Linked DNA regions of Homo sapiens: region 2 is linked to region 1. Evidence: promoter capture Hi-C in human tissues and cell types (Jung and others, 2019). All regions are on one chromosome and are shown on one strand. The core of a region is centred on a gene start or on the middle of the fragment in contact, and the rest is flanking DNA. Distances in the headings are between cores, read along the strand shown. Region 1 holds the start of CNNM1 (cyclin and CBS domain divalent metal cation transport mediator 1). Region 2 overlaps LOC124902489 (a long non-coding RNA gene).

Region 1 (4,892 bases), core at 1,428-3,927:
AAAAGAAAGAAAGAAAGGAAGAAAAACAATCATATGGTTGACCCCAGTTCTCTCCTTCCCTTATACTTCGAATAAATGCCTCAATGTTCCCTCATAAGATTAAACCTCCCTTCTGTCTCTTAAGTAGCCCATGCAAAAAGCAGCTTATAGTGGACAGGATCTAGTGTATTCTGAGACAATGGCATGTCACAAATGCCACGGAAAATGAGATTTCACACATAGGGATGATTTTACACTAAACCCAGGTGCCAAGGGTGGTATGTAAAATAACTCTTCCTTTTTAATTTATTAATTATTTTTAGAGACAAGGTTTCATGCTGTTGCCCAGGCTGGAGTGCAGTGATGCGATTATAGCTCACTGCAGCTTCGAATTCCTGGGCTCAAGTGATCCTCTTGCTGCAGCCTCCCAAGTAGATGAAACTACAGGCATGTGTCGCCATGCCTGGCTAATTTTTTTTAATTTTTAATTTTTTAGAGACAGGGCCTCCCTACATTGTTCCGGCTGGTCTCTAACTCCTGGCCTCAAGAGATCCTCCCACTTCAGCCTACCAAGTAGTTAGGATTACTATATTTTAAAATGTAATACAGACTTATGATAAATTTACCCAAGAGAAATAAAAATTTATGTTCTCACAAAAACCATCACACAAATGTTCATAGCCACTTTATTAATAATTGCTAAAAACTGGAAATAACTTAAATATCCTTTATTGAATGGATAAACAAACAGTGACACATCCATATAATGGAATGCTACTCAGCCATACAAAAGGATGAACTACTGAAAATCACAACAACATAGATGAATCGTAAATGCATTATGCTAACTTAGTAAAGGAAGGGAGAACCCAAAAGGCTACAGACTGTATTCTCCATTTATATGATAATCCGGAAAAGAAAACTATAGGGGAGAACAGATCAGTAGTTCCCAGAGGATAAGACGAAGGGAGGGGTTGACTACATACAATAGGACGGTAAGAGAATTTGGGGGGTGGTGGTGATGGAATTACTTTTTATTGTGATGTTTACATGTATATGCATTTGTCAACATTCATAGAACAGTACACCAAAAAGTGAATTTTACTATATAAAGTTTAAAAATAAATGCATAAAAATAATATAGTCGAGTAAATTCAAACAATATAAGGAATTTAATAAGAAAGTCTCCCTCCCAGATCTTGGTGATAATAGATCTGTATTTTGAGTGCAGTGATGGTCACATACATCCATACATGTGATAAAATGATAGAGAACTATATACACACATTACACCAATATCAACTTCCTGCTTTTGATATTGTACTATAATTAAGATGTAACCCGCCAGGCACGGTGGCTCATGCCTGTAATCCCAGCACTTTGCGAGGCCGAGGCAGGCGGATCACCTGAGGTCAGGAGTTCGAGACCAGCCTGGCCAACGTGGTGAAACCCCGTCTCTACCAAAAAAAAAAAAAAAAAAAATTAGCCGGGCGTGATGGCGGGCGCCTGTAATCCCAGCTACTCAGGAGGCTGAGGTAGGAGAATCGCTTGAACCTGGAAAGCGGAGGTTGCAGTCAGCCGAGATCGCGCCATTGCACGTCAGCCTGGGTGACAAGAGCGAAACTCCGTCTCAAAATAAATAAATTAATTAAAAGATGTAAACGGCGGGTCGCGGTGGCTCACGCCTGTAATCCCAGCACCCTGGGAGGCCGAGGCAGATGGATCATTTGAAGTCAGGGATTCGAGACCAGCTTGGCCAACATGGTGAGACCCCATCTCTACTAAAAATATAAAAATTAGCTGGGCGCGGTGGCGCACGCCTGTAATCCCAGCTACTCAGGAGGCTGAGGTAGGAGAATCGCTTGAACCCGGGAGGTGGAGGTTGCAGTGAGCCAAAATTGTGCCACTGCACTCCACCCTGGGCGACAGAGCAAGACTCCATCTCAAAATAAATAAATAAATAAATAAATCTCATATAAGTGTGTGTGTGTGTACAAATTTATACATAAATACTTTTAACACAAATGGTAGCATATTATACTTGCTGTTCTGCACCTTACTTTGTTTCTACAATTACTTTGGAGATTTTTTTCCGTATCACATATACAACAGATCCACCGCATTATTTTTTATTGCCGCATAGTATTCCATTGCACAGTGGTTTCACTTATTTCAACAGTTTCTTATTGATGGACATTCGGATCTTAACTAAGAATTGAACTTAAATAATCCAGAAATGTTTACAATAATGAAAGGTCGGCTGGAGTTGAGGCTAAAAGTTTTCACATATTCAAGACTTGACTCCAGAATATTCTTTTGACCAGAAGGGGGAATGCAAGTGGCAGGAGAAGCGAAAAGCTGGGAAATTTCCCGGGCCAATGGGGAAGCAGTGGAGCCGGCAGGGAATTACTGCCGGGTAGGAGTTCGCAGAGGAGCACCTTACTTTTGGAGTAGGAGGCCATGCTGCAAACCCAGACTTTTCAGGCTGCATCTCAGATATACCGAAGTGTGTACCCGCTACGCACAGTGCGGTGATGCCTGGCCACCTCCAGCCTCCAGCGGGGACCTCCTGCCCAGGTGGAGTCTGAATGCCCACCGCCACCAGCCCACGCGCGCAGTGGGCGTACACGTGGTGACCTGCCTGCGGCTGGGTTCCCAGCTCCGGCTCCTCCTCCCTCCAGCTCTCGCTCGGCTTCCTGCAGTATCACGTGCAGCTGCGCTGGGTGCAGGATGGCGGCGGCCGCGGCGGCGGCAGCAGCGGTGGGTGTCAGGCTCCGGGACTGCTGCAGCCGAGGCGCTGTGCTCCTGCTCTTCTTTTCCCTGTCTCCTCGGCCCCCGGCCGCCGCCGCCTGGCTGCTGGGCCTGCGGCCCGAGGACACTGCTGGAGGCCGCGTGTCCCTGGAGGGGGGCACCCTGCGCGCCGCCGAAGGCACCAGCTTCCTCCTGCGTGTCTATTTCCAGCCAGGACCGCCGGCCACCGCCGCACCGGTGCCCTCACCGACCCTCAACTCGGGGGAGAATGGCACCGGCGACTGGGCTCCGCGGCTCGTGTTCATCGAGGAGCCCCCGGGCGGTGGCGGCGTGGCCCCCAGCGCGGTCCCCACTCGCCCCCCGGGACCGCAGCGCTGCAGGGAGCAGAGCGACTGGGCATCGGACGTGGAAGTCCTGGGGCCCTTGCGTCCCGGGGGCGTGGCAGGCTCGGCCCTGGTCCAGGTGCGAGTGCGGGAGCTGCGCAAGGGCGAAGCGGAGCGGGGCGGCGCGGGCGGTGGCGGGAAGCTCTTTTCACTCTGCGCCTGGGATGGGCGCGCGTGGCACCACCACGGCGCCGCCGGCGGCTTCCTGCTGCGCGTTCGCCCGCGGTTGTACGGCCCAGGCGGGGACCTGCTGCCCCCTGCGTGGCTGCGGGCGCTCGGGGCGCTCCTGCTGCTAGCCTTGTCGGCCCTGTTCAGCGGCCTGCGCCTGAGCCTGCTGTCGCTGGACCCGGTGGAGTTACGGGTGCTGCGGAACAGCGGCTCGGCCGCCGAGCAGGAGCAGGCGCGCCGCGTGCAGGCCGTTCGCGGCAGGGGGACCCATCTGCTCTGCACCCTACTCCTGGGCCAAGCCGGAGCCAACGCGGCCCTGGCTGGCTGGCTGTACACCTCGCTGCCGCCGGGCTTCGGGGGCACCGGGGAAGACTACAGCGAAGAGGGGATCCACTTCCCGTGGCTGCCGGCGCTCGTGTGCACCGGCGCGGTATTCCTGGGCGCCGAAATCTGCCCCTACTCAGTGTGTTCGCGGCACGGGCTGGCCATCGCCTCGCACAGCGTGTGCCTGACCCGGCTTCTGATGGCAGCCGCCTTCCCCGTGTGCTACCCGCTGGGCCGCCTGCTGGACTGGGCGCTGCGCCAGGAGATAAGCACCTTCTACACGCGGGAGAAGTTGCTGGAGACGTTGCGGGCCGCAGACCCCTACAGTGACCTGGTGAAGGAGGAGCTCAACATCATACAGGGTGCCCTGGAGCTGCGCACCAAAGTTGTGGAGGAGGTGCTGACCCCCCTGGGAGACTGCTTCATGCTGCGCTCAGACGCGGTGCTCGACTTCGCCACTGTCTCCGAGATCCTGCGCAGCGGCTACACTCGCATCCCAGTGTACGAGGGTGACCAGCGGCACAACATTGTGGACATTTTATTTGTCAAGGACTTGGCCTTCGTGGACCCCGACGACTGCACCCCGCTCCTCACTGTCACCCGCTTCTACAACCGGCCCCTGCATTGTGTTTTCAATGACACCCGACTGGACACGGTTCTGGAGGAGTTTAAGAAGGGTGAGCAGTAGTCTATCTTCTCCCCCAACTCCTATCCCCTTCAAAGGTATTATCCTTTCCTAACCACGTGAGGCTCTAGGTACCCAAAGCAATTTCTCTCCTATGGTACTAAAAACCCAAGGAAGACTCTACCTCTTGGCTCCCTGGCTATTTTCATCTCACTTCTGCCTCACTTCTTGCTCCTGATTGAGCCCCAGGCCTCTTTCCTCTCTACTTGATTCACAAGATGCACCATATTCCTTATTTGTTCCATTCTACCAGGTTTTTCCAAGGCCTACCAAATGTCAGATACTGTGTAGGTGGGAGATAGCCCTTGAAGGTCATTGCATAGCTCCCCACCTATTACAGGAGACACCTCTGCAGGTTCCCATACAAGCAGCCTTTGCTTTAAACTCCTCCCAGGGCCGAAAGCTCACTATTTACAGAGCAAACTAATTCCATTGCTGGACAGCTCCAGTGGCTGACAATGTTTCCTCATATAGAGCAGAATTTGTGTCTCCAAATCCTTCTACCTCTTCTGCCTTTTGAATCATGTAGACTAAACCCAGACACCTTAGACGTTCTTCCCCATACTTAATTTCCCATCAGGTATTGATTGCACACATATCAA
Region 2 (4,288 bases), core at 617-3,116, 1.0 Mb before region 1:
ATTTTAAATTTGTTTAGGTTTTTGTTTTGTTTTGTTTTGTTTTGTTTGTTTTTTGTTTTTGAGACAGAGTCTTGCTCTGTTACCAGGCTGGAGTGCAGTGTGGTGTGATCTTGGCTCACTGCCACCTCCACCTCCTGGGTTCAAGCGATTCCCCTGCCTCAGCCTCCCGAGTAGCTGGGACTACAGGTGCACGCCACCATGCCCAGCTAATTTTTTGTATTTTAGTAGAGACGAGGTTTCACCATGTTGGCCAGGATGGTCTCGATTTCCTGACCTCGTGATCTGCCTGCCTCGACCTCCCAAAGTGCTGGGATTACAGGCATGAGCCCCGTGCCCAGCCTGTTAGGTTTGTTTTATGGTCCAGGACACGGTCTAACTTGGTATACTTTCCAGGGACACTTGAAAATAATGTGTATTCTCTGCTGGTGGGAATGTAAACTAGTACAACCACTATGGAAAACAGTGTGGAGATTCCTTAAAGAACTAAAAGTAGAATTACCATTCGATCCAGCAATCCAACTACTGGGTATCTACCCAGAGGAAAAGGAGTCATTATACGAAAAAGACACTTGCACACACATGTTTATAGCAGCACAATTCACAATTGCAAAAACCTGGAACCAACCCAAATGGCCGTCGATCAGCAAGAGGTTAGAGAAACTGTGGTGTGTGTATATATATATATATATATATATATATATATATATATATATATATATATATATGATGGAATACTACTTAACTGTAAACAGTAATGAGTTAATGGCATTCACAGCAACCTGGATGAGACTGGAGACTATTATGAAGTAACTCAGAAATGGAAAACCAAACATTGTATGTTCTCACTTGTAAGTGGGAGCTAAGCTTATGAGGATGCAAAGGCATAAGAATGACACAATGAACTTTGGGGACTCAGGGGGAAAGCGTGGCAAGGGAGTGAAGGATAAAAGACTACAAATAGAGAGCAGTGTATACTGCTTAGGTGATAGATGCACCAAAATCTCACAAATCACAGCTAAAGAACTTACTCATGTAACCAAACATCACCTGTTCACCAATAACCTATGGAAAAAAATGCGTGACATAAAAAGAAAATAATGTGTATTCTGCTGTTATTGGGTTGTTGGGTGAAGTGTTCTAAAAATGTCAATTGGATCTTATTGGCTGATGGTGTTGTTGAATTCTATATCCTGTTGATTTGCTGTCTAGTTGTTCTATCAATTATTAAAAGAGGAATGTTAATGTTTCCAACTATAATTGTGGATTTATTTATTTTTTATTTCAGTTCTGTCAGTTTTTGCCTTATGTATTTTTCAGGTCTGTGGTCTGCACATACATATTTAGGACTGCTGTGTCTTTTTAGTGGATTGACCCTTTTATTACTATGTAATGTCCCTGTCTGTGTTTGGTCATTATCTTTGCTCTGAAATATACTGTATCTGATTATAACATAGCCTCTCCTGTTTTCTTTTGATTAATGCTTGCATGATATGTCTTTTTCTATCATTTACTTTTAACCTCTCTATATTGTTATATATAGGGAGTCAACTAGTCAACTAGTTATGTATAGGGAGAGCAACACTGAAATATCACAGATGTTAGAATTTTCTGACAAAGATTTTAAAGCAGCCATTATAAAAATGTCTCAACAAATGATTACACAGTTGAAACAAATGAAAAAGAAAACAGTCTTAGCAAAGACATAAAAAGCTTCAGAGAAAAAATTAGAAAATATAAAGAAGAACCAAAAGGAAATTTCAGAACATAAAAATACAGTAATCAAAATTTGAAATCTCAATGGATGTGCTCAAGAACAGAAGGAAAATGGGTATTTATTCATCTCTTTACTTTTCTGTTTCTTTTTCTTTCTTTCTGACATTCCAACATTTCTTCTTTTTATTATTTCCTCCCTGTTTAGAAAATAACTCCTAGCCATTCTTTTAGGATAGGTCCCCTGGCAACAAATTCTCTGTTTTACTTCACTTGAAAATATCTTGATTACCCCTCCATTCCTGAAGGACTTTTTTGACTGATATAGAATTTGGGGTTGACAGTTTTTTCTTTTAGTTATTTTCTGTCTTGAGAATGTGCCATTTCTTACCGGCCTCCATGATTTCTGATGGAAAATCCTTTGTCATTCAAATTGTTGTCCCCTATAGGTAAGGTATCATTTCTCTCTCATTGCTTTCAATAATTTTCCTTGTTTTTGGTTTTCAGAACACTGACTATGATGTATCTTGGTATGGAGATACTTGGCTTTATCCTATTTGGGATTTATTCATCTTCTTGAATTTAGAGGTTTACGTATTTTGCCAAATTAAGAAAATTTTCAGCAACTATTTCTTTAAATGCTTTTTCTGGCCCTGTTTTCCCCTCTGCTTCCAGGAGTCTGATGGCAAGAATGGTGAATGTTAGATCTTTTGTTATAGTCCTACAGTTCCCTGAGGATTTGCTCATTCTTCTTCTTCTTTTTTTTTAAGTCTATCTTCTGTATATTGTTTAGATTAGTTAATATCTATTTCTCTATCTCTTAATGCATTGATTCTTTCCTTTGTCTCCTATATACTGTTCTCAAGCTCATCCATTGAGATTTCAAATTTTGGTTATTGTATTTTTATGTTCTAAAATTTCCTTTTGGTTCTTCTTTATATTTTCTATTTTTCCTCCTCTGAGGCTTTTTATTTCTTTGCTAAGACTGTTTTTCTTTTTTTATTTGTTTCAACTGTGTTTGTAATCATTTGTTGAGACATTTTTATGATGGCTGCTTTAAAATCTTTGTCAGAAAATTCTAACATCTGTGATATTTCAGTGTTAGTATCTCCTGATGGTCCTTTTCATTTAGTTGGAGAGCTTCATGGTTCTCAGCATGATGAGTGATTTTTCATCAAAACCTAGACATTTTGGGTGTTAGGACACTTTGGATATTGTTTAAACCTTTTATTTTAACTGGCTTTCTCTGATACTGCTCCATCAGGGGAAGAGTGGCATCATTTGTTACTGCTAGGTGGAGGTAGAAGTCCAGGTTCCCCATCCAGCCTCCCTTGACCCATGAGGGGGAGAGCTTCTCATTACTCCTGGGTAGGAATGGCTGGTTGGCTTTCTACTATGCTTTCCCTGACACTTCCTTGGCTAGGATGAGTAGGAGTTCTTGTCACTATTCCTTACATGGCCTTCACTGACCCCACAGGAAGGGGGTGGCCTCATTTTTACTGGGTGGTAGTGAAGGTCCTGACCCTCCATTAGACCTTATCTGACACCACCCTGGTGAGGAGGGGAAGGACTGCCTTATTGCTGCTGATTAGGAGTGGAAATTAGGCTCCACTGATACTATCAAGGGTATCAATGGTGGGGAGAGGCTCATTACTGCCTGCTGGGAATGGAAGTCCCAGCTCCCTACTCAACCTTTTCTGATACCACCATGGTGGAGGGACTGGGTGCCTGTTATAGCTGGGAAAGAATGGAGGTCCAGACTCATTGCCTGATCTTTGCTGGTGTGTGTGTGTGTGTGTGTGTGTGTGTTTCTGTGTGTGTACATGTGTGTTGGCCAGGGATGGGGGTAGGGGACAGAGCCATAGTTTTTTCTGTGATGTCTGGCTAGAGTAGAGCAGTCATTATCTGAACATTTTCTGTCTTGCTAACCTGCCCTTTTCCTGATATTTTAGCTGGAGAGAGCAGGTTTTTGTTTGACCGCTTTGTTTTTCTTGTCTATGCACGTTGGTGCAGCCAGGTTGCTTGCCTCTTCAGCAATAAGTCTAGGATATACATGAGGCAAAAATAACACCCAGAGAACTCACCGTCATTCGTTCCTTGGGCTCCAGGGTCTCTAGCTGGGTTGCCTTATTCTCTCCACCTTCAAGGGTCTCCTTATGTTTATTTTATATATAATGCCCAAGATTTTTAGTTGTATTAATACTTAAATTCCCACTTAGTGGGAAAGACAGAAAAAAGTGCTTCTATTTCATCTTCCCAGAGGCAGAAATGTTTCCTCCTCATTTATTTTCTGAAGAGTTTATGTAGGATTGGTATTATTGCTTCCTTAAATGTTCAGTAGAATTTTCCAGTGAATCCGTCTGAGCCTGTGGTTCTCTTTGTTGGAACGTTTTTTTTACTGTGAATGTCTTTACTATATCTAGGATTACTTACCTATTTTTCTTTTTCCTTTTTCTTTCTTTCTTTTTTTTTTTTAGACAGAGTCTCACTCTGTCAGCCAGGCTGGAATGTGGTGGCATGATCTTGGCTCACTGCAACCTCTCTGCCTCCTGGGTTGGAGCAATTCTCCTGCCTCAGC

The links. Contacts are between HindIII fragments. The study calls those that stand out against the background at their distance.
Region 2: a contact is called between a fragment that was not itself captured here and the fragment with the promoter of CNNM1 in region 1, in 1 of the 25 tissues and cell types used here (mesenchymal stem cells).

The regions. Positions count from the first base shown.
Region 1 is chr10:99,326,679-99,331,570 of GRCh38, forward strand. CNNM1 (cyclin and CBS domain divalent metal cation transport mediator 1) reads left to right here and starts at 2,678. Exons shown (of 11, transcript NM_020348.3): 1 at 2,678-4,282. The coding sequence starts at 2,710. The HindIII fragment of the contact is 11,915 bases long and covers 1-4,892 here.
Region 2 is chr10:98,279,025-98,283,312 of GRCh38, forward strand. It overlaps LOC124902489 (a long non-coding RNA gene), which reads left to right. Exons shown (of 2, transcript XR_007062260.1): 2 at 1-1,257. Among named protein-coding and RNA genes, the nearest start is that of LOXL4, 13 kb to the left of the region's middle. The HindIII fragment of the contact is 6,301 bases long and covers 1-4,288 here.